2 separate regions of the Homo sapiens genome follow, and region 1 is linked to region 2. The links are contacts of gene promoters, found by promoter capture Hi-C in blood cells and fetal thymus (Javierre and others, 2016). All regions are on one chromosome and are shown on one strand. The core of a region is centred on a gene start or on the middle of the fragment in contact, and the rest is flanking DNA. Distances in the headings are between cores, read along the strand shown. Region 1 overlaps HECTD2-AS1 (HECTD2 antisense RNA 1). Region 2 holds the start of PPP1R3C (protein phosphatase 1 regulatory subunit 3C).

Region 1 (6,759 bases), core at 502-3,001, 84 kb before region 2:
TTCTTGGTGTAGGTTTGTTGGTTCTTCCTCATAGTTAGATTCCATTTACACACTTTTGGCAGGAGTACCAGCAGCTTTCTTGACAGTCATGGAGGGAGAGCCAGTCAAAGGAGTGAAGCCATATAGAGGAAAGACGAACAGAGAGGCAGAGGAAGAAAACCAACCCAGATGAGCCCCTTGATCCAGTGAAACTCGACTTGCTAGTTACATAAGCCAATAAATTCCTCTTTTTTGCTTCAATTAATCTGAGTTGGTTTTGTGGCTACTCTGCCTCACTCACACCTTAGCCAACATGTGGGACCAGATAGTGTCCTTCAAAAAGCCCCAAATTAGTAGGACCAACTCAGGTCTGACCAGAAGGACATATCCAAGGCAGCCCACATGAAATTGGCCATCTTCCCTAGTAATGAGTCAAAAGCCACACAGTAGTAACTGCTGTCACTTGATTCTTACCTTAGAACCGTGCCTCCACAGAAAGCCCATAACCTGCTGTGGCTTATCCAAGCCCCAGTGACACAAAGAGAAATCTGATTTATCAACATTTCCAGGAATACAGACTTTTTCTTCTCTCTGCATTTGTCCCTTCACTAGGGCCTCCCCATTCTCTCTTTTGTGCATTAACTATGGTCACCAGATATCCTATCTCCATTTACCATTTACCTCACGCTTGTCCAGTCCACAGCCTGCAGGCTGCATGCAGCCCAGGACAGCTTTGAATGTAAACTTTCTGAAAACATTAAGAGATATTTTTGACAATTTTTTTTTAGCTCATCAGTTATCGTTCGTGTATTTTATGTGTGTCCCAAGACAATTCTTTTTCCAATGTGGCTCAGGGAAACCAAAAGACTGGACACCCCTGAACCTGCTGCCTCTTTACTATCTCATTATAATTAGTACAGTTGTGTAGAAGCTTTAGCCTCTGGAAGATGAGAGATTGAGTGGGTGCAGCCGGCTCTCCTGTGGGGGCATCTGGCCAGTCCATTCTCTTGGCTCCCCCGCCTGGATCCTTTTCTTGCCTGGGTGTTGTATGTGACCACCAGATCTGACCATTTCATGTGTGTTTCCACTTTTGTCAGTTATAATTTGCCAGGCTTGCCCTTTCCATATCTACACATGGAAAGCACATTAGGTTGCTAGAATTCACAAAATAGAATGCCACAAACTGGGTGTCTTAAACAACAGAAGTTGATTTTCTTACAGTTCTGGAGGTGAGAAGTCTAAGACGAAGGTGTTGGCAGGTTTGGTTTTTAATGAGTCTCTTGCCTTGGCTTGTAGGTGGCCTTCTTGTTGCCGTGCCCTCACAGGGTCTTTGTTCTGAGCATGCACATGTGTGACTCCCAATTTTCTCTCCTTATAAGGACACTAGTCAGATTGGAGTAGAGCCCTACCCCAACAGCCTCATTTTAACTTAATCACCTCTTCAAAGGCCTGATCTCCAAACACAGTCACATTCAGAGATATTGGAAGTTAGGGCTTCAACATACCAATTTTGGGGGCAGGGGCCACAAGGCAGTCCATAATAGAGAGGAACACATTATGTCAGGAGCGCATCTGACCTGCATTCAACTTAACCCCACTCAAAATTACTCAAGCAACAAATACATTTAATTATCTCACATAACAACAACCAAAAAAAAAAAGTGTGGCAATATTTTGTCCCTGGAATGGTGCATTGACTTAAAGGTATTACCAAAGACCCCATTTCTTTTCACCTTTCCCTATGCTGCCTTTGATATATTGGGGTTTTGTCCTTGCACTTGTCATAAGATGACTGCCAGGATTCCAGATATTATCACAACACTTTCCCCTTGGAATTTATTGGCTACGACTGAGTCATGTGGCCACTCATAGATGCAAGGGAGGCTGAGTAAGCAAGTGTCAGACATAAAATTGATTGTATGCAGGCCAGGCACTGGGATTACACCTGTAATCCCAGGACTTTGGGAGGCCAAGGTGGGTGAATCACTTGAGGTCACGAGTTCAAGACCAGCCTAGCCAACATGGCGAAACCCATCTCTACAAAAAAATACAAAAATTGGACAAGTATGGTGGCACACACCTGTAATCCCAGCTACTTAGGAGGCTGAGGCACAAGAATCAGTTGAACCCGGGAGGTGGAGGTTGCAGTGAGCCAAGATCATGCCACTGAACTCCAGGCTGGGCAACAGAGCAAGACTCTGTATCAAAAAAAAAAAAAAGCATTGATTGTATGCAGAAAAGAGTTAACATAATAGGCCTGAGACAGCTATTCTTAGGAAGGCCTGCTTACGAGGTTGGCCTTTGGTTGGCATCTGGGAACTTGGATTTTGGGAGGGGCCCCACTATTGTCAAAACTGATAACCATGGTTCACTGTGCTGAAACTGTGCATGCAAACAATATGGTATGTGCTGAACACCTGCTTGTCTTTTCTGGAGGTCTGGAATGTTGGTATATACTAGGTAAAGGGTGCCTGTGTGACCAGCCCCCGTTAGAAACCCTGGGCACTGAGTCTCTAATGAGCTTCACTGAGAGGCAACATTTCACATGTACTGTCACACCTCCCTGGAGAAATGAAGCGTGGCCTGCATGACTCCAATAGGAGAGAACTCTTAGAAGCTTGTGTCTGATTTCCTGTAGACCTTGCTCCATGCACGTTTCCCCTTTGCTGATTTTGCTTTGAGTGTATCATTGTATTGTAATAAATCTTAGCCATGAGTGTGACTATATGCTGAGTCCTGTGAGTCTTCCTAGCAAATCACTGGCCTTGGGTTGATCTTGGGGACCCTGACGCAGACAGACACCATGGTCTTAGACCAAGCATGATTCATCTTCTGGGAACTGGTCACCTTGGGGTTCTGTCAGTGGAGAGGAAGAGTGGTATGGCTGTGGAAAGTGACACAGTGTCTGCCACACAAATTGGTATTTCACTGAAAGATGTACTTATCAGAACAATGAGGACACCTAAAGACATCTGTAGGGGTTTTGTCACTTGCAACCAGATTCTCTGACTCATTGTGATAAAGATGCTTATTACAATTTGAACAGAAATCCAAATGGTAAAACATTTTACTGATAATCTCATTCAAACCTACCCTCCTTGACCTCTTATTCTGTGGGAAAAAGAGACTGTAATACCATGGAGAGAAAGTATGGGGAGGACAATTCCAAATGCCAGTGGCAGGATGGCCAGCATGATGCCTCCGGCCAGTAAGCTTGCCCTCTGAAGAAGGGTGAATGCTCCTGTGTTTGTAAATACTGGAGGCTCAGTGGATTGTCTTGAGAGGAGGGAGTCCTGATCAATTTAGTGATTGGTTCTTTTTTTTGTTTGTTTCATTTTGAGACAAAGTCTCACTCTGTTGTCACCCAGGCTGGAGCGCAGTGGTGCAATCTCGGTGCACTCCAACCTCCGCCTACCAGGTTCAAGTGATTCTCCCATCCTCCCACCACAGCCTCTCAAGTAGCTGGGACTACAGGCACACACCATCACACCCAGTTAATTTTTGTACTTTTAGTAGAGACGGGGTTTCACCATGTTGCCCAGGCTGGTCTCAAACTCCTGAGCTTAGTGATCCACCCGCCTTTGCCTCCCAAAGTGCTGGGATTACAGGTATGAGCCATGGTGCCCAGCCTCAACTGATTTGTTCTTACATTAGAAAATGAGCAGGAGAGCTGAGCCACAAATCTGTTTCCATGCTGATGTTTTCCCATCCTGAATAATCATCTGCCTGCCTGTGGAAAGGGAAAATGCAAACGTCTCCATGCAACTGAACACCCAAGTGTTTGCCATAGTATTAGCAAAACACAGCATGGCCAAACATGGAAAATAGCCCCAGAGAATGCCATTTTGCTCAAGAAGACCTTGGAGGAATATCTGGCCTGTTCAAGCACTTTCCCTACCCTGAATCTCTTTGGCTATAATTTGCCCATTTTTAATCAATCAATAATCATATTTCTGGGTTCTGGGGCTGAGACAGAGATCGAAGAAAGTGAAAGGCATGGTTCATGCCCTTATAGAGACTACATATAGCTAGACCGAAAACAGTGAGAAGCAAAACTGTGGGTGCTTTGAACTGTACATGCAGTGGGAATTAAGGAATGATGTAGTCAGGCTGAAGTGACCAGGGACATTTCCTGGGGACAGGACTTGAAGATGAGTTGGCTTTAGACTAATGCTGGGGAGTGGGAACTGACCTGGGCAGCAAAGCAAGGCACAGAGGCAGAGATGAACTCTGAATGTTCAGGGCTCACCAGGGAGACTGGCTGGGGGCTTCCATGGGGAAGGAGAGGGAAGCCTGGTCAGAGAATAGGACAAGACCAGGGAGAGAAGATCTTGACAACAGATGAAGGGCAGAGCGAGGAGTTTGAATTTGATGAGGACTGCCATCTACTGGCAGTTGATGCAGGCTCTTGGGCAGTAGTGTGGCCTTGGTCCCGCTGAGGTGGGCAGGGGGAGCTAGAGACAAGGAGAATCTCTAGGAACCCCCAACCCTGAAACAGAAGCCTGAGTTTCAACTGGAGGCGGGAGAGGAGAGTCAGCGAGAACGAAGATGGACAGACTGCGGAAACATAAATGAAGGTAGGAACAGCGGAGCTCGAAGAGTAAATGCAGAGAGTGGACACAGAGGCCAAGAGGCTTGGCTCCAGGGCTTTCTTCCTAGGAGACCAGAATTTCCCCTTGTGCAGGCTGAGGACACATACAGATGCTCCTTGTTCCCATTAAGCCTCACGCTGACACCCCAAGATGGTTAGGAAGTGGCTTGGCAAGGTCCCTCCCAGGCCTTTTGGAAATCTCCATGAAGGAGTGTCTGTTTCTCCTCCCCATTCTTCCTTCTCCTTCCACACCCCCTGACCCACCCCTTTCTCTTTCTCTTTCCCTCTCTCCTTCTACCCCTCCTTCTCCTATTCGAACTTTCTGGCTTCTGCAGGAAAAGCAGCCACAGTTTCTTCCCACTGCCCACCCCCCAACCCCTGCCCCAATGCTTGGAGGACAGACCCATCCCTTTGCTGGGTTCAGGAAGATTCTAAAACACTTCGGCCTGCTGCTTCCACCAGCCCGGCTCCAGCTGCATCCCCAGGAACCTGTCCAAAAAGAAGGGTTCAGATCACATAGGGAGCTCCTCTTGCTCTTCAAACTCCCAAGCTGCTGCTAACCAGCTTGTGGAGAGAGGGGATGAAGCGAAATTTAGGGCAGGAAGAACATGAGCCTGCTAGCATAATCCACTTCTATCGCAAAGCGAGCGGGTATGCTCAGGCCTGCGGCCAGGTACAGGGCACACAACCCTCTGTCAGCCCTGCTGTGTCTCCTCAAGGGGGCAGAGCTGTCTTCTTACATGTGTGTGCATGGGTGTGTGCACACACATCCACACACGCAGGAACGCACCTGACATTAGGAAAAAGTCATTCTAACCCCCTAGTTGGTCTCAATGGACTCCTGCAGCTGTAGATGGGAATTTGAAAGCCCAGATCAGCATAGAAACCAGCCTTAACCAGTTGGCTGAGCCATGGTCAAGTAAATTAATAAATCCTGGTGCCTGCAAAATCTAGATCTCAGGAATAATGGGGTGGGGGGAGGAAACTGGTTCTGCCTGTAGAATGCAACTGACCAGCACAGGCTGAGATTTCTTTGTTTGTTTTTCAGATGGAGTCTCAAACTATCACCTGGGCTGGAGTGCGATGGCATGATCTCGGCTCACTGCAACCTCTGCCTCCAGGGTTCAAGCGATTCTCCTGCCTCAGCCTCCCAAGTAGCTAGGACTACAGGTGCGTGCCACCACGCCCGGCTAAGTTTTTGTATTTTTAGTAGAAACGGGGTTTCACTATATTGGCCAGGCTGATCTCAAACTCCTGACTTCATGATCTACCCGCCTCGGCCTCCCAAAGTGCTGGGATTACAGGCATGAGCCACTGCACCTGGCCCAGGCTGAGATTTCTAAGCCCCATCCTTTGAGCAGCTAGCCTCCCAGAAGAACCATTTCCTACCACACACAGCGCTCTGCACACTGGAGGCACTCCACAAACACTGTGCAAGGGGCTGTGGATTTTCCTGGAGAAGGCTCTAAACCACCAGTGGTCTTGGCTGCAAGGAAGCAGCCTCTCCCACTTGTAATTTATCCAAGGCCATTTGGTTAAGCCAGGAGCCCCAGAACAGCCCACACCTGCAAGGCAGGTGATGTTTATGGCAAAACTTTCAAGTAGGTGTACACCCTTGAGGTTTCTTTCCAAAGCACAAAGGTTGGAGGATGTGACCAGTGTCTGGAATTTGTACCAAAAGTTCTGCTCTCCTTTGAGACTCTCTCCCCCATATGTACACATATGCAACACACATAAACACAAAGTCACGTATGGACATATGTACACACATCAACATAGTCATGTGTACACATAATTACACACTTTCTTCTTTTTTATTCAAATGTTTTATTAATTGTAAAGGTGGCAGACTCTCTGTAATAGGCCAGATATTACAGAGATGATTTTTTTAAAAGTAATCATCTCAATCCCTTAACACAGCAGTCCCAACCTTTTTGGCATCAGAGACCAGCTGTGTGGAAGACAATTTTTCCACGGATGGCGGGGTTGGTGGAGGATAGTTTCAGGATGAAACTGTTCCCCCTCAGATCATCAAGCATTAGATTCTTATAAGGAGTGTGCAACCCAGATCCCTCGCATGTGCAGTTCACAATAGGGTTCACACTCCTATGAGAATCTAATGTGCTGCTGATCTGACAGGAGGCGGAGCTCAGGCAGTAATGCTCACTGGCCCACTGCTCACCTCCTGC
Region 2 (6,475 bases), core at 276-2,775:
GCAACAGTTTTGAGAGTGAGAAGGCTAGAGAAGAAGTCAAAGAATCATCTTTGCACTTTGATTATCATGCTCTTATTTTTCACAAATAACCACTGAAATACAAGCCAACAATTCATATGCACTTAAAAACTATATAATTGATAATTCACCTAAAGAGATGCCCATGACAAGTCCACATTTAAGTGGAAAAACTGATTACCTGAAAGTTGGAGTGTTTTAAAATATACATTTTATATATACAAACTTATAAATATTGAAAAACTCTATAGGAAATACACCTTTCCTAATAATTTAATAATTATTATTTCTGGGTGATAGGATTATAGATTATCTATTTTCGTTTTTGTTCTTTTTTGGCATTTTCTAATAGACATTTATAAGTAGAAAGACAATAAAACCATTTAAAGTTTTAAACATGACTATGCTCAGCAATATTAAACCAAGAAGCATCTATAAAGAAGACTTTTCTCTGACCTTTAGCCCTCATCATATATTTCCAAGCTTATGGTATTAAGATTTTTTTCCCTATCTTAGCCTTACAAGTAAGAGGTGTGTGTATACTGTACACGACATTTCTCAGTCTGGCTTTAGTAACTCTCCTCACAGCAGCTCTAAACATGTATGCAAGTGGTCATTATCACAAAAGTGTGTAATAACACTCGCAGAATTTACTGTGTTAGCTCTGGGGTTTTTCTGGGAGATCTGCAAACTTAGAACAAACAAATGAAAGCTAAAGCTATATTTGTGGGTCTAATAATAGTTAATAGGCAGGATTTTTAGAGAAGTCTTCTGCTAAGCTATGTCTGGAGAAGCTATTTAAAGTAGTTTTATGGGAGGTTTTTTTTGGTTTTTTTGTTTTTTTTTTTTTACTTTTTGCATTTATAGAAAGACAGTTTTAGTTTGGGTGATTTCCTTGGAACTTTAAGTCCTGGACAAGAGTTAAAAGTAATCGTTTGCTCAAACTCTTGAGATTTTGCTATGGCAAACTGTGATAAGAAGGACGAATGAATGCAAACGTCGTCCTGTAATTTTTTTCCTCCAAGCTAAACCACCTAACCAGCAATGTCAGAGTGCTGTTCTCACCACTTCAGCTGCCCGAGTCTTTGGGACATTTGTGCAGGACCAAAAGAACAGCCGCATCCATGAGAAAATCCTAACTCAAGCTGATTCACGTTAAGATAATTTCTGCTTTAAGATGCTGATTACTAAAATAGGCTCTGCTTAAGAAATAGAGCCAAATTTCTACACCTCCAAGGCCTCTCGGTTGCCAGATTCAACTACGCAGTCAGTCCACTTGTCCTCCCCCTGGGGTGTCCATTTCCAGAGATGATAGAACTGAAACGCCCCCCAACTTCCCCACAGCTGCGCGTTCCCCTGTGTTCCTAGCGCGCAGAGTTGCAGCGAACCTACCTGGTGCAGCTCATTAGGCAGAGAGGCGGCGGACCCTAAAAGCCAGCACCCGCTGCCTGCACAAATTCGAACCACAGCTCCAGGCCTTGCCCCCGCGGCGGTCGCTGGGAGAGACTGAGGGCCCGGCGCCTAGAGGCCGCTTATCTGCTCCCAAGCACGTGACCCGATCCCTGGGACCAATCGCCGGGCCTCGAGCCCCAGGGCGCGACCAACCAGCGCCCAGCTGGGGCGCCAGCCCTCGCCCCGGCAACGTGATCGCCCCGGGGCGAGACGTGCAGAGAGCTATCTGGGCATCGCGGGGAGGTTCTGGGACTCCGCGGCCAGCTGGAACCAGCCGCGTAACGGGAACCCTGGGCTAGGGGCCGGGCAGGCACGTACCGCATGCAGCGGGCGCCGGCCAAGAGAGAGCGCAGCCAGCCTCGCCCAGGCGGGGCGCCAGTGCCTCAGGCTTGGGGCGGCTGTTACTTGGGAATAGCTTTGTGGGTCACTGCGGGTGAATCTGCACACAGAAGATGTGGCTCAAACCGAATGTGTATCGCATTTGAAATGTTTATATCGTTCATTACCCGGTGTATCCGCATTTCTCCCTCACCTTAGCCTGCGCGATCCCAAACTGGCTGCATGCTTTTCGATTAGTATGAGTTCACAGATGCACCACACAGTAGACAGCTGCCGGGAATTACCAACTTATCTAACAAATGTTGTTAGGAAAGCATACGAGCCCCATAAAACACCAAGGTGGCATTTAATTAAAAGACACTTCGTATTTCTGTCTATTCTTCAATTTTCTCCCCTGCGGGGAACACTAAAGCCGGAAGTGAAATGACCCTTTTCACACATACAGCCGGTCAAGAGGCAGCAGTCAACCCAAACCCCTTACTCAATTCTGACGTCCTTTGGCAGTGGTGTGGAAATCAAAATGTTAAAATAAAATTTAAAAAATCACGCCGTATGTTTCATGGGCCTTCTGAGCCACTCACTTTCGCTGAAGTTTCATTATTTTGATTAGTTTGAAGAATTTTTAGACCATCATTTACAACTGTAAAATTAAATGTCTAAGTCAAGTCTAAATTATTTTTATAAAACCCACATCCTAGTTTTGCTCCCCTAATTGAGCTATCCATTAGTCAATTAAAATATACAAAAATTCCTATGTCTTTTAAACAACTGTCAAACAGTGGAATTGTTAAAATTATTAGAGTGAAGAAAAAAATCACACTGAATATCACTGGGAAAGGGACTTCATGCCTGGGTTTTATTTTTGAAATGAAATATCTAACTAATGGCAGGTCTTCTAGCCCCTTTAGCTCAACCAAAACTAGCTGGAAGGTCTTTGGATTGACACTTACTAGCTACACGAATCTAGGCAAGTTCTAACCTCAGTTTCCTCATGTGTAAAACAGAGATAGTAACGTTCTGAAGATGAAGTAAGATGGTGCCAATGAACAGACTCAGCACGATGCCCAGTGCCTGTGTTCCACCCGGGCTAGTTCCCAAGTTTCTACTTGATCTCTCAGCTAGAGTTTTTACTCTATCACCTCAAGGCGCCTGGTGCCTGAGCTAAAATATTGAGAATAGCTGCTGCTTGTTGAGCCTTTACTCTGTGCCAAACACTATGTGCTATCAATTCAATCCTCACAACAACCCTATGTGATATGTCCAATTATTAATCCCATTTTAGAGAAAAGAAAACGGAGACACTGAATGGTCAGGAAATCTGCCCAGTGGATCACTTGAGGCCAGGAGTTCAAGACCAGCCTGGCCAACATGGTGAAACCCTATCTCTACTAAAAATACAAAAATTAGCCGGGCATGGTGGTGCACACCTGTACTCTCAGCTACTCTGGAGGCTGAGGCAGGAGAATCGCTTGAACCCGGGAGGCGGAGGTTGCAGTGAGCTGAGATTGCACCACTGCACTCCAGCCTGGGCAACAGAGCGAGACTCTATCTCGAAAACAAAAAACAAAAAAAAAACCTGCCCAGGTTCTCACAGGTAGAGCAGGGATTAGAGCCTGGCTGATACCAGAGCAATAACCGCTGCACCATATTGTCTTATTTTAATGACCCATCAATGGTTAGAATTATGGAGGTAGGAGGTGATAGGCATCAAACTCTTTATTTCACAGATGAGGAACTGAAAGCTTAGACAGGTCAAGCTGCTTGCCAGGGGCTGGCTAGGTCTGAGCCAAAACTAGAACCCTGGGTATTCTTTTCCTCTACCCATGATTATATGTTGAGCTAAATAGTAAATATTACCAGTTAAAACTATGGAGAAACATGAATAACAATTTATGGTGATCGCATTTTGAGGGAAAGGTATCCATGCATAGAAAACAGAATGTGCTCTACAGAAATGTGAACAGTTCATTTTGGAATGGTGAGATTATGAGTGATTAAAAATGTCTTCGTTGTTTTGCTGCTCTGTTGTTTTTCTTAATTTTTCTACAATGAACATACACGACCTAATTAAGAAATAATTTTTCAAGGGCGTTAAAACTCTGGGATTCAACTAACACATATAGCGTACTGCTAGGTGCCAAGAACCGTGGTGGAAATTTTCACATGCTTGTGCCATTTACTCACACCACCCTTTCAGCCTGTTCCATTCATACAGCTTTCTCTCCTGCCCCCTGGTGTTGACTAATGCCATAGAAGTCACTCTCCCTTTCAGCTCCTTCAAATGGAAGATTCAGGGAGACCATGCTTTCTCCTAAAAGGACTCAACACTCACTCAATAAACCTCTAAATTGGATGATCCAGGCTTTTCACTTCTGTCTCCTTCCCAGCTTTTGCTCCCCTTCATTATTGGATGAGAGAAACTAGGATGGAATCAGTGTTCTTAGTTGTAGGTTGCACCAATGAAGACAGAGTAGAAAGGAATCGTGGGGAGTTGTACTATTATTCGTAGGATTTCTCCCACTGTGGTTTGGCAGCATCTAAACATTGCTTGGTCCTACCCATCTTAACAATCAATCTATCAGCAGGAAATTATTGAGCTATGCAGTAGTTCCAGCTCCATGCCAGGGGTTACAAAGTCTGAGCAGTCATAATCCTTTGACCTTGAGGAGGTTACAATCATTATTACAGAAAAACAAATTCATAGAATACCCAGCAGACATTTTAAGAAGCTACTAAGCAAGGAGCTGATAATTGTGGGGCTTACACAAGTGGGTCTCTTACAGCATTCACTCAACACGTTGCCTGAGAGCTGCCTTTGGAAAAACACCCTGGGGGGTTGCCAAGTTGCCAACTCATTTTCTGCAAGCTTGTCTTTTTTCAGTGCCTAATCAAGAAAGTACTTGAGAATTCAGCCTCATAGTTATTAATATAAAAATGTCAGTACTTTAACCACAGTTAGTGGTAACTGAGAGAAACCTCGTAAGTGATCTTGAAGATCACTTACGGAGTTTCAGTGAAAGAGTCAGGGAAGTTGCGAACTGGTTTTTTTTTTTTTTAATTATTATTAAAAGGAGCAGGTTTTGCATTTTGGAGAACAAAAAAGGTGCCAATTCATTTGTCTCAGTTAATAGTAAGCGCTCTTGTACACTATTTTCTTCTTCCTTCTTTAGCTACATTCAACAGGAACTCCAATATTAAGTAAAAGGATACAACCTGAAAAACATATACTGCTTACTTTGGGCTCGGCACTGTTTTAAGCACTTAGAAATATTAACTCATGTAATCTTTATAAGAATCCGGTGAGGTAGAAACCCATTTCACAGATGAGGAACGTGAAGACATCGAAGGTGCCAATTGTCCAAGATCACACAGCTAGTAGGTGACAGGATCAGGTTTCAAGCCCCTCTAGAATCCACGCTCCTAGTATGTGAGTTGCTCTGAAAAAGACAAGCACCACACTGGTAGCTACCAAGACCAAAAAGCAGCTCCGAAGGCCAAAGAGATCCCGAAAGGAGAAGGCTCGCTGTGGAATATCTGTGGAAGCTTCAAGGAGGTAGCGGGAATTGGGAAGGCCAGGAAAATGGGAAGAACTTAAATATGATGTGCTATCATCTTTAGGGCATTTAGATGACTAGAATACAACTTTGTGGCTCAGCAAATAAGAGAGCAAATAAGATCACCATTGAAACGGTGCCAGCCACCCACCGTTCCACTCAAAGGGCATATTCCCAGAGGCAAGTGGGGAAGTGAAAGGACTAACAAATCTGCTTGTTGCCAAGTAGACTATGCTACCAGCCATTCCGTTTGCACTAAAGGGATTTTCAAGTATAATTTTCACTACTGGAAATTTTTTAGTTTTTACCTCAAACCCCATTTGTAAAATAGTCCAGTAAGAGCAGACAATGGTCTAGGTGTGGTGGAAAAGCATAAGTGTTAGCAAAATAAGGGGTTAAAGAAAGTGCAGGCCTGGGTGAGGTGGCTCACACCTGTAATCCCAGCACTTGGGAGGCCAACGTGGGTGGATCATTTGAGGTCAGCAGTTCAAGACCAGCCTGGCCAACATAGTCAAACCCCTTCTCTACTAAAAAATAAAAAAATTAGCTGGGAGTGGTGCTGGGCACCTGTAATCCCAGCTACTCGGGAGGCTGAGGCATGAGAATCACTTGAACCCAGGAGGCGGAGGTTGCAGTGAACCGAGATCGCGCCACTGCACTCCAGCCTGGGTGACAGAGTGAGACTCCCTCTCAAAAAAAAAAAAAAAGAAAAGAAAAGAAAGTGCAGGATGCCGCCTGAAACATGTAGGTATCTCAGGTGAGGTGAGGAAAAGGAGAGGGGAGGGCGGATGAAAAAAAAGAATGATATAACTGTATCAGGTTGACTTAGTGGCAAATGGATCATGTGAATATTACACACATTTGCTACACATGCTTCAGGACTTTAGAGAAAGGAGAAGCCTCTGGGGGTCAGGATGGCCAAAGAGGACCAGGACTTATTGAGTAACTACAAGGAGAAGAATTTGGCTAAAGGTGAGGATTCTGGCTGGGGAGCATGAGGAGGAGAGGTCAAAGGAGAGAGGTTTTTTTTTCTAGGCAGACTCTCACCTGTTGCCTAGTCTGGAGTACAGCAGCACTATCTCAAACCTCCGCCTCCCAGATTCAAGTGATTC

The links. The method cuts DNA at HindIII sites, captures the fragments that hold promoters and counts their contacts. A CHiCAGO score of 5 or more calls a contact.
Region 1: a contact is called between a fragment that was not itself captured here and the fragment with the promoter of PPP1R3C in region 2, in 1 of 17 cell types (endothelial precursors). The highest score is 6.8, in endothelial precursors.

The regions. Positions count from the first base shown.
Region 1 is chr10:91,547,639-91,554,397 of GRCh38, forward strand. The region is part of intron 1 of HECTD2-AS1 (HECTD2 antisense RNA 1); the gene reads right to left. LOC105378433 (a long non-coding RNA gene) reads left to right here and starts at 5,693. Exons shown (of 3, transcript XR_007062244.1): 1 at 5,693-5,740. The HindIII fragment of the contact is 1,686 bases long and covers 909-2,594 here.
Region 2 is chr10:91,631,546-91,638,020 of GRCh38, forward strand. PPP1R3C (protein phosphatase 1 regulatory subunit 3C) reads right to left here and starts at 1,526. Exons shown (of 2, transcript NM_005398.7): 1 at 1,411-1,526. The coding sequence starts at 1,424. RefSeq lists enhancers at 1,157-1,658, 1,659-2,158 and a silencer at 1,493-1,632. The HindIII fragment of the contact is 3,050 bases long and covers 500-3,549 here.